Regions from separate parts of the Homo sapiens genome. Here regions 2, 3 and 4 are each linked to region 1. Evidence: promoter capture Hi-C in 16 types of primary human blood cells and fetal thymus (Javierre and others, 2016). All regions are on one chromosome and are shown on one strand. The core of a region is centred on a gene start or on the middle of the fragment in contact, and the rest is flanking DNA. Distances in the headings are between cores, read along the strand shown.

Evidence for each region. The method cuts DNA at HindIII sites, captures the fragments that hold promoters and counts their contacts. A CHiCAGO score of 5 or more calls a contact.
Region 2: a contact is called between the fragment with the promoter of CFAP65 here and the fragment with the promoter of RESP18 in region 1, in 16 of 17 cell types (erythroblasts, M2 macrophages, M0 macrophages and 13 more). The highest score is 15.0, in erythroblasts.
Region 3: a fragment that was not itself captured here is called in contact with the fragment with the promoter of RESP18 in region 1 in 5 of 17 cell types (naive CD4 T cells, erythroblasts, megakaryocytes and 2 more); the score reaches 6.7 in naive CD4 T cells.
Region 4: a fragment that was not itself captured here is called in contact with the fragment with the promoter of RESP18 in region 1 in 3 of 17 cell types (erythroblasts, neutrophils and megakaryocytes); the score reaches 6.6 in erythroblasts.

What each region holds. Positions count from the first base shown.
Region 1 is chr2:219,331,161-219,334,777 of GRCh38, forward strand. RESP18 (regulated endocrine specific protein 18) reads right to left here and starts at 1,584. Exons shown (of 6, transcript NM_001441699.1): 1 at 1,364-1,584. The coding sequence starts at 1,469. RefSeq lists an enhancer at 3,563-3,617. The HindIII fragment of the contact is 5,862 bases long and covers 1-2,458 here.
Region 2 is chr2:219,039,784-219,043,400 of GRCh38, forward strand. It overlaps CFAP65 (cilia and flagella associated protein 65), which reads right to left and starts at 1,733. Exons shown (of 35, transcript NM_194302.4): 1 at 1,705-1,733; 2 at 736-781. The HindIII fragment of the contact is 30,940 bases long and covers 1-3,617 here.
Region 3 is chr2:219,056,936-219,060,552 of GRCh38, forward strand. IHH (Indian hedgehog signaling molecule) reads right to left here. Exons shown (of 3, transcript NM_002181.4): 1 at 3,218-3,617; 2 at 498-759. The coding sequence starts at 3,532. It overlaps MIR3131 (microRNA 3131), which reads right to left and starts at 1,815; the gene lies at 1,753-1,815. The HindIII fragment of the contact is 817 bases long and covers 1,599-2,415 here.
Region 4 is chr2:219,073,194-219,076,810 of GRCh38, forward strand. It overlaps NHEJ1 (non-homologous end joining factor 1), which reads right to left. Exons shown (of 8, transcript NM_024782.3): 8 at 1-3,262. The coding sequence ends at 3,188. Among named protein-coding and RNA genes, the nearest start is that of IHH, 14 kb to the left of the region's middle. The HindIII fragment of the contact is 1,940 bases long and covers 1,179-3,118 here.

The DNA of each region.
Region 1 (3,617 bases), core at 334-2,833:
CTGAGCACATGGGAATAGTAATCAGGTGGGTAGGTGGGGCATGGGGAAACAGGTGAGCTTCATCTTAGGGAAGTCATTGAAGCCTGGAAGTGTTAGGGAGGAGGCCTGGAATCATTAGAAAAGGTATTGGTTTGTTTAGGGTTTGAGGCTCTGGATCCTTTTCCTGAAGCCCACAGTTTGCCCAACTGTGCATGAGAGGAAGGACAGGGGTTGGGGAAGAGAACCCCTAATGCTATGCACACCTTCCTTCTTCCAGATCAGTGAGATAGGGCTGGAGGACAGTCTGTTTTTTGCTATAGTGTAGTTACCATGAGCCATTCTGGACAGGTCTTTAGAAAAGGGAATTCTCCTACCCAGTCAAATGGATGTCTAATAATTTCCTGGGGGTAAGCGTGACAAAGTTTTAAGTAGAGACATTTGGGGATGAGAAAGCCTCCTTAAGGAAGTAGTGGAACCTCCAACACCCTGAGGAGAAGGGAAAGAGCTTCGGGAAGGGGAGCTGATTCTCTGAGGCAGCGTTCCCAGGACTGGTGGGAAGGAGTGGTGACCCGCTCGGGCTCGGCGTGGACCCGGAGCGCGCCTGGCGCTGTCCGTGGTGCTGAGAGGTGGGGAGGCCAGCGTGGCGGCGGCGCTGGGCGGAATGTGGGCGAGACATCTCCGCAAGGCTTGGCGGTCCTTCCCCACGGCCCTCATCCTCTCATTGCCACCAGGCCTCCTCCCACAGCTGTTCCTGAATCCGCTGCATTGGCCTCTAAAACCAAAAATCAGGGAGAGGGGGCGACAGACTAGGAGTTTGCGCTCTCTTCCCCATGCGCTCTGCGCAGGAGTTCTCGAGTGTGCGCAGTCTGGCACGTGAGTCAGCGCGGGGTCTACGCGGATTGGTGCGGGGGAAGGGGAGAAGGATGGTCCCATTCCCCCTCCATCCTGCTTTCCCTCAGCGGTCCCCTTATTGGAAACCGGATCACAGCACGAGGAAGCCCTGGCTCGTCTCCTGGCCCAGCCTTCTCCCTGGAGCCAAGACCCCGATACCCGCAGCCCTGGTCAACTCTTTTTCTGGCCTTTCTTGCTTCTCCTGTGGCCACATAGGCCAGTTTTACCTCTCTCTGTTCATTTGTCTTTCTGACCTCTTCCCAAATCCCCAATTTTCACCTGAACCCACTTCTCGTGAGTCCAGACCCCATATGCCCAGCCTATCTGAAGCCTATGCCTCTTTCCGCTAGACGCTGTCTACCTTTTTCTCTTCTCACGTCCTTAAGCACATTCTTTTACTTCCAAGTTTCCTAGCCTTGAGGCCCCCTGCAGACCCCCACTTCTCAGGATCGCTTTCTTGGCCCTGCCCGCACCCCCCAGGGTTCCTCCTGACCGTGGGCACTAGTGTCGCTGCAGCCCCCCGGGCAGCTGTTCAGCAGCAGGAAGCAGACAAGCAGCTGGAGCCCCTCGGAGCTCCCAGGCCACAGTGGGTGCTGTATCCTCCCAGGCTCGGCGCGCTCACTCCCCGGCCAAGTCTCAGTGAAGGTAGCGGCCACGGCCGAGGGGCTGAGCGGGGCTGCAGCTTCCCACCAGCCCGCGACTCCGAATCTGTTTAACCCTCCTCGGCAGTTCAGCCAATCGTGAGCGGGCCCTGCCCCTGCGGTCGCCTCCCCAGCTCCTTCCCCTACCGCCTCCCCACCCTCATCTCTTGGAATTCCTGACCCGGCTCCTTTCGGGCATTAGCTGGGTCCCAAGAACCACCGCCTGTACTCCCAGTCCTAAGGCTGCAGAAACGGATGGCACGTAAGATACGGGTGCAAGTTGTACCTACTCAGGTTTGTTGTGAGAATCAAATATGAACAGCGATGAAACAGTAGGCACTCAAGGAATTTAGTTTATTTTATTATCCTTGACACTCTTTACTCTGGCCCACTTAAAACCCTTTAGAAATCATATAGGTTCGATCTGCTATATATATATATATAATATTATATATTATATATTATATATGGCACATCCATCCACTTTACTCCACATCCACTGCCATCGCCTTGGTCCAAACCACTGCACACTGTACTTTTTTTTTTTTTTTTTTTTGAGACAGTCTTGCAATTTCAGATCACCACAACCTCCGCTCGACCTCTACTCAACCTCAGGCTCCAGAGTAGCTGGGACTACAGGTGCACACTACCATGCCCAGCCAATTTTATTTATTTATTTATTTATTTTTGTAGAGACAGGGTTTTGCCATGTTTCCCAGGCTGATCTCAAACTCCTAGGCTCAAGCAATCCTCCCACCTTGGCCCCCCAAAGTGTTGGCATTACTGGCATGAGCCACCATGCCAGGCCTTGGACACTGTACTCTTTTAAATTGAGTTGTTGTAGTAACTAACTAGCTAACTGACCTCTTGCTTTCACTCTTGTGTACTTACAAGCTAGTTTGTGAGCTTTCTAACTCTTAGACTGGCATTTAAATTTTTTTTCATTAAGCTTAAAACATTTATTAAACTGGGCATGGTGGCTCATGCTTGTAATCTCAGCACTTTGGGAGGTCGAGATAGTGGATTACTTAAACCTAAGGGTTTGTATAGTGAACATTTGGGGTTGATACATTACAAAGGATCTGAATTATATTATTATCTTTAAAGGGTAATAGTTTGAGTTTGTTCTGGCAGGCAATTAAATTTTTGGTAAAAAGTCTTGATCCTGTGGCAGTCTGGTTAGGGAAGGAGTACTTCATCCTATTCTCAATTCTAGCCTGTATCTCTTAGTCCTGGGATATGGTGCTTATGGCTAAGGTGTGGTCCTTTTTGGATTTCAACATAACCCAAAGTCATTTACCAAAACTCTCTATTTTACGGGTCCTGAACTCCAAACTCAGTCACCCTAACACTGTGACAGCTGCCAAAATCTCTGTTCAGATATTTGACTTTTTCACTAGGTTCCTTGAAATCTCACCCTGCGCAAGTGCCATTTAGAAGATAGCTAAGAATTGGAGGGGAGTTAGGATGCAGATTTTGAGTTCCTCTCTCTGTAATTTATTCATTTTCTAAATTTCTTCCTCAATTTCCAGATGCTCTGGCATCTCTGTACTCCAAAAGCTGTTTCCTTAGTAAGACTGCCAGTTGCTGACAGAGCTGTTTCCCTGTGTACTGCAGTGAACTCTGAAGTATCTTCAGAGGAAAAGCCTATACATGTATAAGTCACTTGGTGGACTTCCTTTTTTTGAGGACTATACTCCCTGTAGGTTTCTAACTCTTGATCAGTCTCCATGCTTTCATACAGTTATTTTTATATTTTGCCTAGAGTATATACCCAATGTTAGGAGGATCCGACACAAGTTTCTGTCTTGTCACGCCAAAAACTAGAGGTTTATCTGGTTGTCACTGATTATGTACTGGACATGCTATTTTAAAATAAATTTATAGCAATAATTTGAGGCCTAAGAGCAAATGAACGTGAACCTGCTTTGTGAAGTATAATGCTCCTGGAAAAAGGGAAATATTGGTCTTTGGGTCGGCTGAACAAAGGTGAGTGTGCTCCTCTCTGTATTTTAAGATTTTAAACCACCAGGAGAATGGCTATCAAAATGATAAATGTACAGGAGCATTGATGCTGCTCTTCTTTTTACTGTTCATTGGAAGGGA
Region 2 (3,617 bases), core at 483-2,982, 290 kb before region 1:
CATCTCAATTTGGACTACCCATATTTTCAGTGCTGAATAGCTACATATGGCTATTGGCTACCACATTGGACAGCATCACTTTAATACCTTTTTTGAACATATGTTTATTTTTCAGACTACTCAGTATCCTCCCTCACTTCTTCAAATAACAATCTCAAAAATAATAATGTCTATTAACATGTACTGAGAATCCACGTGCCAGGCAGTGTTGTAAAGTCCTTAGAGGGATTTTATTTATTTATTTATTTATTTATTTATTTATTTATTTAAGACAGACTCTCATTCTGTTGCCCAGGCTGGAGTGCAGTGGCAAGATCTTGGCTCACTGCAACCTCCACCTCCCAGGTTCAAGCAATTCTCCCTTACAGGTATTTTAATTCTTACAACAGTTTATGATTACGTGTGACTTGCCCATTTATTTGGCCTAAAATGATCCTTTTTCAAGTTTGTCGTTTAGTTCCTTATTTTAATGTGTTCAGATTTAGCAAACAATTTCATGATCACCCTTTAGGAATTTATACAGTTCCATCAGACACTCTCTTATCCCTCCCCCACCACCCACCAACACCCTTCCAAAGCGGAAGATTCTGTTGACCCTGGTTTTCCTAGTTGGCAACATGTCTAAACCCTCTGGAGGGGACTATCTAGATTCAGTCGTTCGTTCATTCACAAAGCACTTACTATTATGTACCAGGTACTGTGCTAGGCACCAGACAAGGCAGGCAAGGCTCCTACCTCCAATTGTGAACTGGACGTTCAGATGAAATCAAAGAAATGTAAGCTGAGGAGACACAGAGAGAGTCCATTACTTTTCTGCCACGGGATGGTCTTGCAGCCCTGTCCTGACTCATTAATGCCTCTGACCTCAGGGGACTGTACAGACAGCTCCTGCCTCAGAGCTCTGAAAAAGTCTCCACTCAACACATGAAACTATTCCAGAGAGTGCATGGAAGAGATGAGAGATGATGGGGTAGAAAGCTGGTCCAACACAGGTCATAGGGCTAGGGAAGTGGTCCCAGGGCAAGGGACGCTGGGTGCCAGCATCTTCTCAGACTCTACGGGGATAGGCAAATTTCTCCATCTCCCGGAGCCTCAGCCTCCTCGCCTGTAAAATGTGGGTTATCCTGACGATTTCACAAAGTCGATGTGCAGCTCGAATGAAACAGAGGATTTGAAAAAGCACTAAACAAACACGTTATAGTAATTAACAACCATAACTTTCCCACTAGCCTGCACTATTCTTCCAAAAGACTCACACATCTGCAGTCGTTGTGAAGAGACTGGGCAAGCGAGGTTTTTTGTTTTGTTTTGGATTTGTTTTGTTTTAAATTGAAGTTTCCAATTTCGAGGACTTTAAAAAATATATATCATGAGCTTCCTTTATTTGCCTAATTGCTGATCTAAAAATCTCCAAGATGACCACTAGAAAAAGTGGCAGGTCGTCGTATAGAGTCGAGGGAGAAAGAAATAGATGAAACAAAGGGGGACAAAATACACTTAGAGCTGTTTCTTCTTTCTCTTCGGGATCCTTAGTCTGATTGATCTCGCCCAAGACTCAGTCCCATGGGGCTCTCTGAAGGGCATGGAGGGGACCTCTGGCCACGATTTCCCGAAGGATAGGGTCTCCCGGGACAGATACCTTCCCTGGCCACTCGCGCCGCTCCCTGAGACCCTGGGACCTTGGGACTAACGCTCAGAACTTACATCGCCTCCATATTGCCGTCTCCATAGATACAGGACGCGCAGGAAACGGCGTCTTCAGATATCCCAGGGCAACGACGGCAGCCCGAGTAAGTCAAGATTCGTAGAAGGCGAAGGCACCGCCCAATTTTATTTCCTATATTCAGTTTTGATTCCCTGACTTTTCCTGCTGGTAGTAACTGTGGGCTTCTACCTGTCGCGACATGGTAATGTAGAGCCTCCTAGTTGTCGTGACGTTCCAGCAATCATGACTTTAATTGACGACCAAATTCACAGGAAGCTACTCTGTGGGCTTGGCACTCTGACATGCATAGAGACAGAAGCTCATTCTCTGTGATTGCAATTGTTAACTTAAAAGCAGCCCGCAGTTATTTCTTATTTGAATATTGCTTTGCAAATAGAACCCTTTTGCTGATGAGAGGGAATGCGTCCTCTGCGTTTTCTCCCGGCATTTCTTCTTGGTCAGCAACAAGAAAAATAACTCTTTTGAAGGGATCGGAAGGTTAATGTATAAAGGAATTATTATACATAATGTAGACTTTCGGAAGCCCATTGGTTCATTTGTTGGTATGTGTGTTGGAGGAAGGGTCCTATTTTGTGAAGACTCCTTAGTAGGTGAAGCTGAAAGTCTCAAAGTTCACTCTTGGGTAACTAAGGATGTTTTGCTCCTCAAGACAGTGAACCTATTTCCTTTCAGATGGAAGGGGGGATGTGACTAGGGGGAGAGAGCTTAGTGAGTCTAGGGGTAAACACAGAAAATAAGCTATCATTTTGGGAGAGTTGGAGTTGACTTGTGAAAGGTGAAAGATGGACTGAGATGGCAAAGTGGCCTGAGCTGGCCTGGGAGATCACATGGCCAGAGACTGGCAGGGCTGGAGGGAAGGGGCAGGCAGGGCGCCTGGTAAATTACGCCAGCAGGATCAAGAGTTTTCCGGGAATCAAAGAATGTGGAACTCAGTGAGCTTTTCCCTGGATTTAATGGGATTCTCAGAATCTGAAACCTGCACTTTGGACATGACGACTTTTATGCTGTTTGTAGTTTCTATAATTATTTCCTTTTTGTTTTTCCCCAAATTCTTTTTGAAATGGTCAGCCTAACTCAGCTGGACCTTAAGGACAAGGAAAGGAACTGGTTCATTCTTAGGCGAAAATGAAATAGGGACTTTGGGGGCAGGGTTTGGTGTTGGCCCCAGGAATCTCAGTGGGAAAACTCCAAGGAGGAAGCACAGCTCATGCTAAAGGCGTCCTCGTGCCTCTTCACCGGGGAGTCTCCTTCCTGAGCTCTTGCCTGCTCAATGGTGGATTCTGGGTTTGGAAAAATTAAAGGGAATGGTTCCTCCTCTTAGCAGGGCCCCTGTAGCCTCTGCTTCTGTAAGCGTCTAGCTGCCTCCTAGAAGCCCTGATGCCTAGTGACCACAGCTGACATCAGTGGACTCCCAGGGAGAAGCCTGTGTGCTGGACTTTGCCCAGGGAGGCACACACATGGAAAGAGCCTTCACAAGGGATTGAGCCTGAGGAGGGAAAAGAGGAAGCTGAGTTTGCTTTGAAACTCTCCCTTTCCAGGAGCCTAGAACCAGTGGAATAATGGGTCCTGGGACCTGTTGATCATATTTTCCCTGGACCCAAAAATAGATCATGGGAGAGGCAGCCAAGTGCGGTGGCTCACACCTGTAATGCCCACTCTTTGGGAGGTGGAGGCTAGTGGATCAGGAGTTTGGTCAGGAGTTCAAGACCAGCCTGACCAACAGGGTGAAACCGTGCCTCTACTAAAAACATAAACATTAGTCGGGCATGGTGGCTCATGCCTGTAATCCCAGTTACTCGAGAGGCTGAGGCAAGATAATTGCTCTAACCTGGGAGGCAGAGGTCGCAGTAAGCTGAGATCGCACCACTGCACTCCAGCCTGGGTGACAGAG
Region 3 (3,617 bases), core at 757-3,256, 270 kb before region 1:
AGGGCACAGGGGGAGAGGTTGGGGACGCCTGCGCCCCAGGGAGGGCTGACCTGCAGCTGGGTGGTGGGTTCTGAGCCTCTGGGCTCCTGGTCAGGCATGCAGGTGTCTGGGCATACCCCGGCTCCTGGCCCCACCACCCGCCTTGTTCTGTGCCAGGTGGGGTGGGGAGGCCTTGTCTGGCAGCCTGGCTTCCTCCATCTGTCCAGCTTGCTCTGTCTTGCACCTCCTGTGGCAGGCTCTGGACTGTGGGCCACCAGGTCAGCACCCAGCAGCCCTGGGACAGGGCCCTATCGCCCTAGGCTCCTACCATGACACTGCCAGGCATGGGATGAGCAGGCAGTCACGGTCAGGAGCAGCCTTGGAGAGCGCCGCTGATGTCCTCTTCCCCCGGATCCCTGCCTCCATCCCCGGGCGGGCTCTTCACCTTCTCGGCACTACTCCTCCTGCCCATGCCCTGCGGCCCCGGCCCCGGGCCCAGCCCCCCGGCGGCGGCTCACCGGACTTGACGGAGCAATGCACGTGGGCCTTTGACTCGTAATACACCCAGTCAAAGCCGGCCTCCACTGCCAAGCGCGCCAGCAGTCCATACTTATTGCGGTCGCGGTCTGATGTGGTGATGTCCACCGCGCGGCCCTCATAATGCAGGGACTCCTCTGAGTGGTGGCCGTCCTCGTCCCAGCCCTCGGTCACCCGCAGCTTCACACCGGGCCACTGGTTCATCACCGAGATAGCCAGCGAGTTCAGGCGGTCCTTGCAGCGCTGGGAGAGGAATGTGCGCGAAATCAACCAGAGCGAAATCAGCCGGAGGAGCCGGCCGAGGTGCAGGTGTAGGCGCAGCCTCGCCCAGAACTCTCCCGCCACACCCAAGGGAGCTGGAAGCCCGGGAGGGTGCTGTCCCTCTCCCTTAGGAACAGAGGGCCCTGAAGTGCTCCCTCCCTAGCATACAGCCGCCCCCGGGGATCTGGACCGCACGGCGGTATCACAAATCTGGAGGAGGCATGGAGGCAAGCGCCCTGGCGGCGCCTTCACTGGTAGGTGGAGGTCCCCTCTCTCCTGTGCTGTCTTCAGCTCCGGGTATCCATCCCTCCACAGACAGGACTACACCTTTCAGCGCCCGGTCCCTCTGTGCCTCCAAGGCAGGAGGGCCAGCCAGCGGCCGGGAGGGAGGAGTGGCAGCAGAGCCGACTGCCTGCGGCCGGCCTGCGAGGCGTGCAAGGCCCGAGGTGCCCAGTAGGTGTCACCGCAGCCTCAGGGCTGAGGCCTGGGGACGACAGGCTCTGGAGGCGCGGCAGGTGCAGAGCGTCTCGGTAGCTTCAGGGGGTGTGTTGGAGGGGAATCGCCGGCCTGCCTGGATCCCTCGAGCACCACCGAGGATTCCCGCCGGGACCCTCTTATAATCTTAAACCGGCCCACAACCCCGCCAGAGATGACAGGGCCAGGGAACCAGAAACCGGCGGATTAGCGCCAGGGCCGCCCAATGGGGGGCCACATGCAACGTCTTCCTCTGCAAGGCGCAAAAGGGGCTGACAATCCCAGACCTCCAGGACCTCTGCACCGGTGCCCCGCCCCTATACCGTAGGAAGGAACTCCATAAACCAAGCTTCTGATCTCAGGGAGCCAGCTCCACCATCCTCCTCACGTGGAGTTGGGGTAGAGCCGCGCCCTGGGGGAAGGACCGAAGCGGTCATCCTTGGTTGCTGCCTCCTGGTGTGCCTGGGTCCTGAGAGCCCAAGAGACTGTGCAGCTGACTCTGAGAAGAAGCTGGGGCCAGGGCCTTGGTCTGAGGGGAAAGGCCCTTCCACCAGTCCTCGACTCTGAGACTCTGAGATTCGAGGCGCCAACAAGTGTGGGCAGCCCAAGTCTCAACCTACCCCCACCCTGCAGAGCCCGGGCCTCACAGACCCTTGGACTCAGCCTTCCTAGGAGCCAATAGCAGCTACAACCCAGGGCCTCGCAGGTCCTCGCTGGTGCACAGCCTGGCTGGGGGTGCTTACTGCCCAGGGAGGGAGCTCCGCTTGCTCCTTCGTAGACCCTGCCGTCAGGCTTCTAGCCCCGCACCTATGCCCGCCTGCAGCCCTGGTTCCCCGCCTCTCTCCCTCACTGCCACCGCCCCCTCTCGGGTCCAGAGCCCGGGCGTGCGCTGTCAATGATTGCCCAGCCCGTGGCCCGGATCCTTATCTGCATTCCTCGGCGCCCGGCCCGGCCCGGCCACCAGCCAACCTTCGGCCCCGACACTGGCCGGCCAGCCCCGGCGCCAGGGTGCATGCTGAGGGCCCTGAGTCTAGCTGCTCTTCCCAACGGATCTAGAAAGCCAGGGGCCTGCTTTCAGGGGGAAGCCTCGGGAGACCCCGAAGGAAGGGGGTGAAGGTCTCTCCCCTCGCGGACCTGGCTGCTGGGAAGGAATTTGCGCCTCTAAGCTTGGGTGGAGCGCGGGTCCTACTCCAGCATGCAGAGACTAGCGTCAGCCCTGGTCCCTGCCTCCCTCGGCATCTCAGCCCCTCTTTTCCACTCCTTCCCGTCCCCACCACCAAGCCCAGGAATCCCCTAAGCTCAGTCCCAGAGCCCGAAGGCCCCAATAACCCACCCTTCCACCGCAGTAGCACCCCTCAGCTCTCCGGACAGACACGTGGGCTCGCTGGGCAGGTTCCTTTTCCCACCTCCGCCTCCCGATTCAACTCTTCCTCGCTGTTCTTAACCCCAGACCCAGCCGGGACGCTGCTCCTGGAAGGGGCAGCCCGTAGAACCAAGAGCGCACAGGGAGGAAAGGCCGTGGTGACCCTACGCACCCAGAGATTCTTTGCCTCAGGGGTGCCGAAAAGTTTCAAAATGAAAGGGGCACAGCTGTGCAGAAGGTTAGGCCGGGAGGGACTGCGTGGGTCCTGGAGGCGCAGGAGGCAGCCGGGTAGAGGTACCTCCGGGTGCAGCGTCTGGCTGAGCTGCCAGTACTTTGGGGCAGAGGAGCCGCCGCCAACCTGCTGGGCTGTGGGGCTTGGCAGCGGGGAGCTCTTCTAGCAGTCTCCTCCGGGCTTGGGGATGCCGACACTCCTGCCTGGACCCCTGGCCAGCCCATCTTGGGCAGGAGGCAGCGGGGCTTGGCGAGAGGGGCAGGTGCCAGGGAGCGTGCCAGCCAGTCGAGAAAATGTGCCAGGGGGTGGGTAGGGCCGGGCAGGTGGCCGTGCTTCGGTGGCGGCGCGCTGGTAGGGCGGATCGCGCTCACCTGGGTCATGAGGCGGTCGGCGCCTGTGTTCTCCTCGTCCTTGAAGATGATGTCTGGATTGTAATTGGGGGTGAGCTCCTTGAAGCGCTCGGAGCTGCGAGCGATCTTGCCTTCATAGCGTCCGCTGGCGCCCAGGGTCTTCTCGGGCACATTGGGGCTGAACTGCTTGTAGGCGAGCGGCACGAGTTTGCGTGGCGGTCGCCGGCGGCTGCCCACCACCCGACCCGGCCCGCAGCCCCATGCCGCCGGCACCACCAGCAGCAGCAACAGGACCAGGCAGAAGTGCAGTCGGGGCCGGAGCCGGGCGGGAGACATGGCCGGGGAGCCCGGGGGAGCGGCGGGCGAGGTCTCCTGGTGGGCTGATGGGCAGGCGCGTCGACGGGAGCGCTGCGGGGGCTCA
Region 4 (3,617 bases), core at 899-3,398, 260 kb before region 1:
GTTCAGAGCATAGAAGCACAGATCTCACTCTTCGCCACCTTACACCATAGGAATTCGCTTCTCAGGAATCAGGGAAAGATGGAGACTAGAAGCTTTCTTCCTGCCTTCTCAATAACTTTACTATCCCTTGGAAATCCTCCTTGATCTGGGAGACTGGCTGCCTGGTGACAAGAGAAGAGAATGACCCTAGTGATATCTTTTAGGACCCAGCCTGAGCTCTGCTTTTAAGGGTTGCTGGGGAAGCCCCCACTGAGGCATGAGAAAAGGAGGTGCTACCCAGCTAGAGTGGAAAGGGATGAGGCTTTCTCTCCAAGCAGGGAGCATGCCTGTCCTAGCTAACTATGGGGGACCAGCCGGCAAGGCCAAGTAGGCCTTGCAATCTAGGTGGCGCTATTTCTCTACTTTTTAGGTCAAGTTCCTGCAGGAACTTCCTCGAGGTCCCAAGTCCTGCTCCTGGTTTGCTGGCTTGCTCGTGTAAACCACCTTATATTATTTTTTTTTCTAAAAATACTCCAAAGCAATTGAAAGAGTCCCTTCTCCCACCAGCCAGCCCTGGCCCCAGCCCCAGCCCCGGGGAGCGGGCGGGTAGGCGGGGAGGTGGGCCACTGCTTTATTAAACACAGGGAAAACTAATATTTACGGAATAAAATTTATGGAGCAGCCACGAGAATTCGACCCTTTTATGTGCATGTAGAGTGGGGGTTGGGCCAGGCTGGGGGCCTCAGGGAGGGGCCCAAGCCAGGGGGCAGGGCTGGAATACAGCCTGGCTAGGCCAATTTGTCAAAGCAGGGATTTCCCTGGAGTTGCCTTAGGATGAATGATTCTCAACCACTACCCCTAGCTTTGCGGGGTAAGGGCTTCGGGGCAAGAATGCCTGTGGCAGGGCCTCTGGTAGCAATGTTTCTCTAACAACGTATTTAAGCAATACCCCAATGGAGACAGCAACCTTTGGGGATGATGGGGGCAGTGGATGGAAGGTTACTAGCTATATTCTTACTTAACCTTTTTAGAAAGTCACACATTCTTTTTGAGAACATCAACAAAATTTTGCTCTTAAGATTTTACCTACAATTTTGAGGGATTCACAGGCCTCTGGCCCCGCTGTGATGAAAAATGTCTTGAGTCTGTGCTGTTACAGTACAGGGAATGCCCAGGGTGAAGAACCGGTATTTTCTCCAAGCTTGCAGGGGAAGCCTTTCCATTTTCCATGTGCCTTGTAGATACTGAAATCTGACTATCTAAATTATGCTGAAAAGAAACGAAAGATCGGCCAGGCACAGTGGCTCAAACGTGTAATCCCAGCACTTTGGGAGGCCGAGGCAGGTAGATCACCTGAGGTCAGGAGTTCGAGACCAGCCTAGCCAACATGGTGAAACCCTGTCTCTACAAAAAATACAAAAATTAGCCGGGCTTGGTGGCAGGCATCTAATCCCAGCTACTCGGGAGGCTGAGGCAGGAGAATCACTTGAACACAGGAGGTGGAGTTTGCAGTGAGCCAAAATTGTGCGATTGTACTCCAGCCTAGGCAACAAGAGCAAGACTCCATTAAAAAAAAAAAAAAGTAACAAAAGAGCAAAGTAAGCCAGCTGATAGGCTGTTTTTATATAGTTCCCAATTCACTTCGATGACAGTCACTACCACACAGCACACTCTAGGGTCCTGTGGTCTGGGGGTAAAGAAAAGTTATCAGCAGTGACTGGGAATGAGCCTTGGTGGAGATCTCAGACTCTGCTAGCAGGAAAAAGCATGAGGGTAAGTCCTGGAGTCCTCAAGAGCTCCTTCCTTGAAGAGCCCCTGGGGAGCAGACATCCTATTGAAAAGAGGCAAGGTCATGGGATAAGGAGGTTTACAGTGGGAGACTGGAAAGAAGAACCTAATGTCCTTTCTGGAAAATAAATGTTTTCATTAGTGTATATAATAATGCTGTTAAGAACTCAGCTGTCTGGGCTTAAATTCTGGCTGTCACTTATTAGCTGTATGACCTTTGATAAGTCACTTACTCACTTCAGGATCCAATTTCTTAATGGGTTAACAGCATCTTCCTCATATGATGCTATGAGGATCAATGTCAAGTGCTCATTAGAGTAGCTGGTATACATTAACTGCTCAATAAATGTTAGCTATTTATTATTGTTGTTCTTATTATAATTATTTTATTATTGTTTGATCATCTTCTCTCGAGACTTGACATCAGGACAGAAACGCCAGTATATATACAGGATATTTGAATAAGGAGGCATTTAACCATCGAAAGTAAATAAACCAGAAATTGGATAGGCGTGGTAGCTCATGCCTGTAATCCCAGCACTTTGGGAGGTTGAGGTGGGCAGATCACTAGAGTCCAGGAGTTCAAGACCAGCCTGGGCAACATGGCAAAGCCTTGTCTCCACACACAAAAAAATACAAAAATTAGCTAGGTGTGGTGGTGTGTGCCTTTAGTCCCAGTTATGCAGAAGGATGAGGCGGGAGGATTGATAAACTACCCCACGTGGTAGTTTAACCTGTTGCCTATACTTTGGAAACAAAGAGAAAAATGCATCCAAGTTTGGCAAAGGAAAGCAGCAATCACCTATCTGTCTTGTGCCCACCATCAAGAGAGTTCTTGAGATCAAAGTTTCCAAATGGAGACTTAGCTCTGGCAACTGCAGAAAAGTTTACGAAGAATCTGAAGGACCAGACTGATGGCTAGACTTCATCCAGAGACAACAATGGGGTGGGACCCAGTGAAGGAAGTGAATTGGGTTATGAGTTCCACAGCATAAGTAATCCCAAAAGCAGGGACTGTGAGTGCTTTTTATTCCATGCAAAAGAGAGAAGTGGGTCTCTGAGGAGTATCTGGGGCTGGCTGGCTAGAGACGCTAGGGAAAGGTAGACAAGGCTTCCTGAGTGTGTGGTGCTTTCTTGCTGACTTGCCCTATATACCTAAAGTCCATGGTAGAAACCTGAACCTACAGAACCTCCACCAAAAGAGAGGAGAGCACGGGATTCTCAGAGACTGGCTTCCACTTGAACAGGGAAGGCCAATTCCCTGTGGGCCTGTCAACATCAACTTCAGTTCTCTCGCCCTTACAGGAGGCCTCTGACTGTATCACTATTTTAGAAATATTGCTGCCATGTAAGCTTCTTTCAAGGTGAAGCTTGGAAGCTGTTCTCCAAGTCCATCCTCAGCAGCTGAGGCCACAACAGATTAACTGAAGAGACCCCTTGGCTTCTTCCTCTTGACCTTTGACAGCTGAGGTCTCTGCAGAGGGCCTGAAGTACCCTAGAAAAAAGGGAACCCAAGTTAGTAGGGGTTTTGAAATAGTTCCACTGAAATTAGGAAAGGAACTTTCTTCCTCTCATGGCTCCTGGTTAGGATGAGGCCTTTTTTTTTTTTTTTTTTTTTTTCCACCCAGGCTGGAGTACATGGGCACAATCAGAGCTCACTGCAGCCTTGAACTCCTGGGCTCGAGCAATCCGCCTGTCTCAGCCTCCAAAGTAGCTGAGACCACAGGCACATGCTGCCATATCTGGCTAATTTTGTTTTTTGTAAAGATAGGGTTTCACTTGGTTGCCCAGGCTGGTATTAAACTCCTGGCTTCAAGTGATCCTCCTGCCTTGGCCTCCCACAGGTTGTG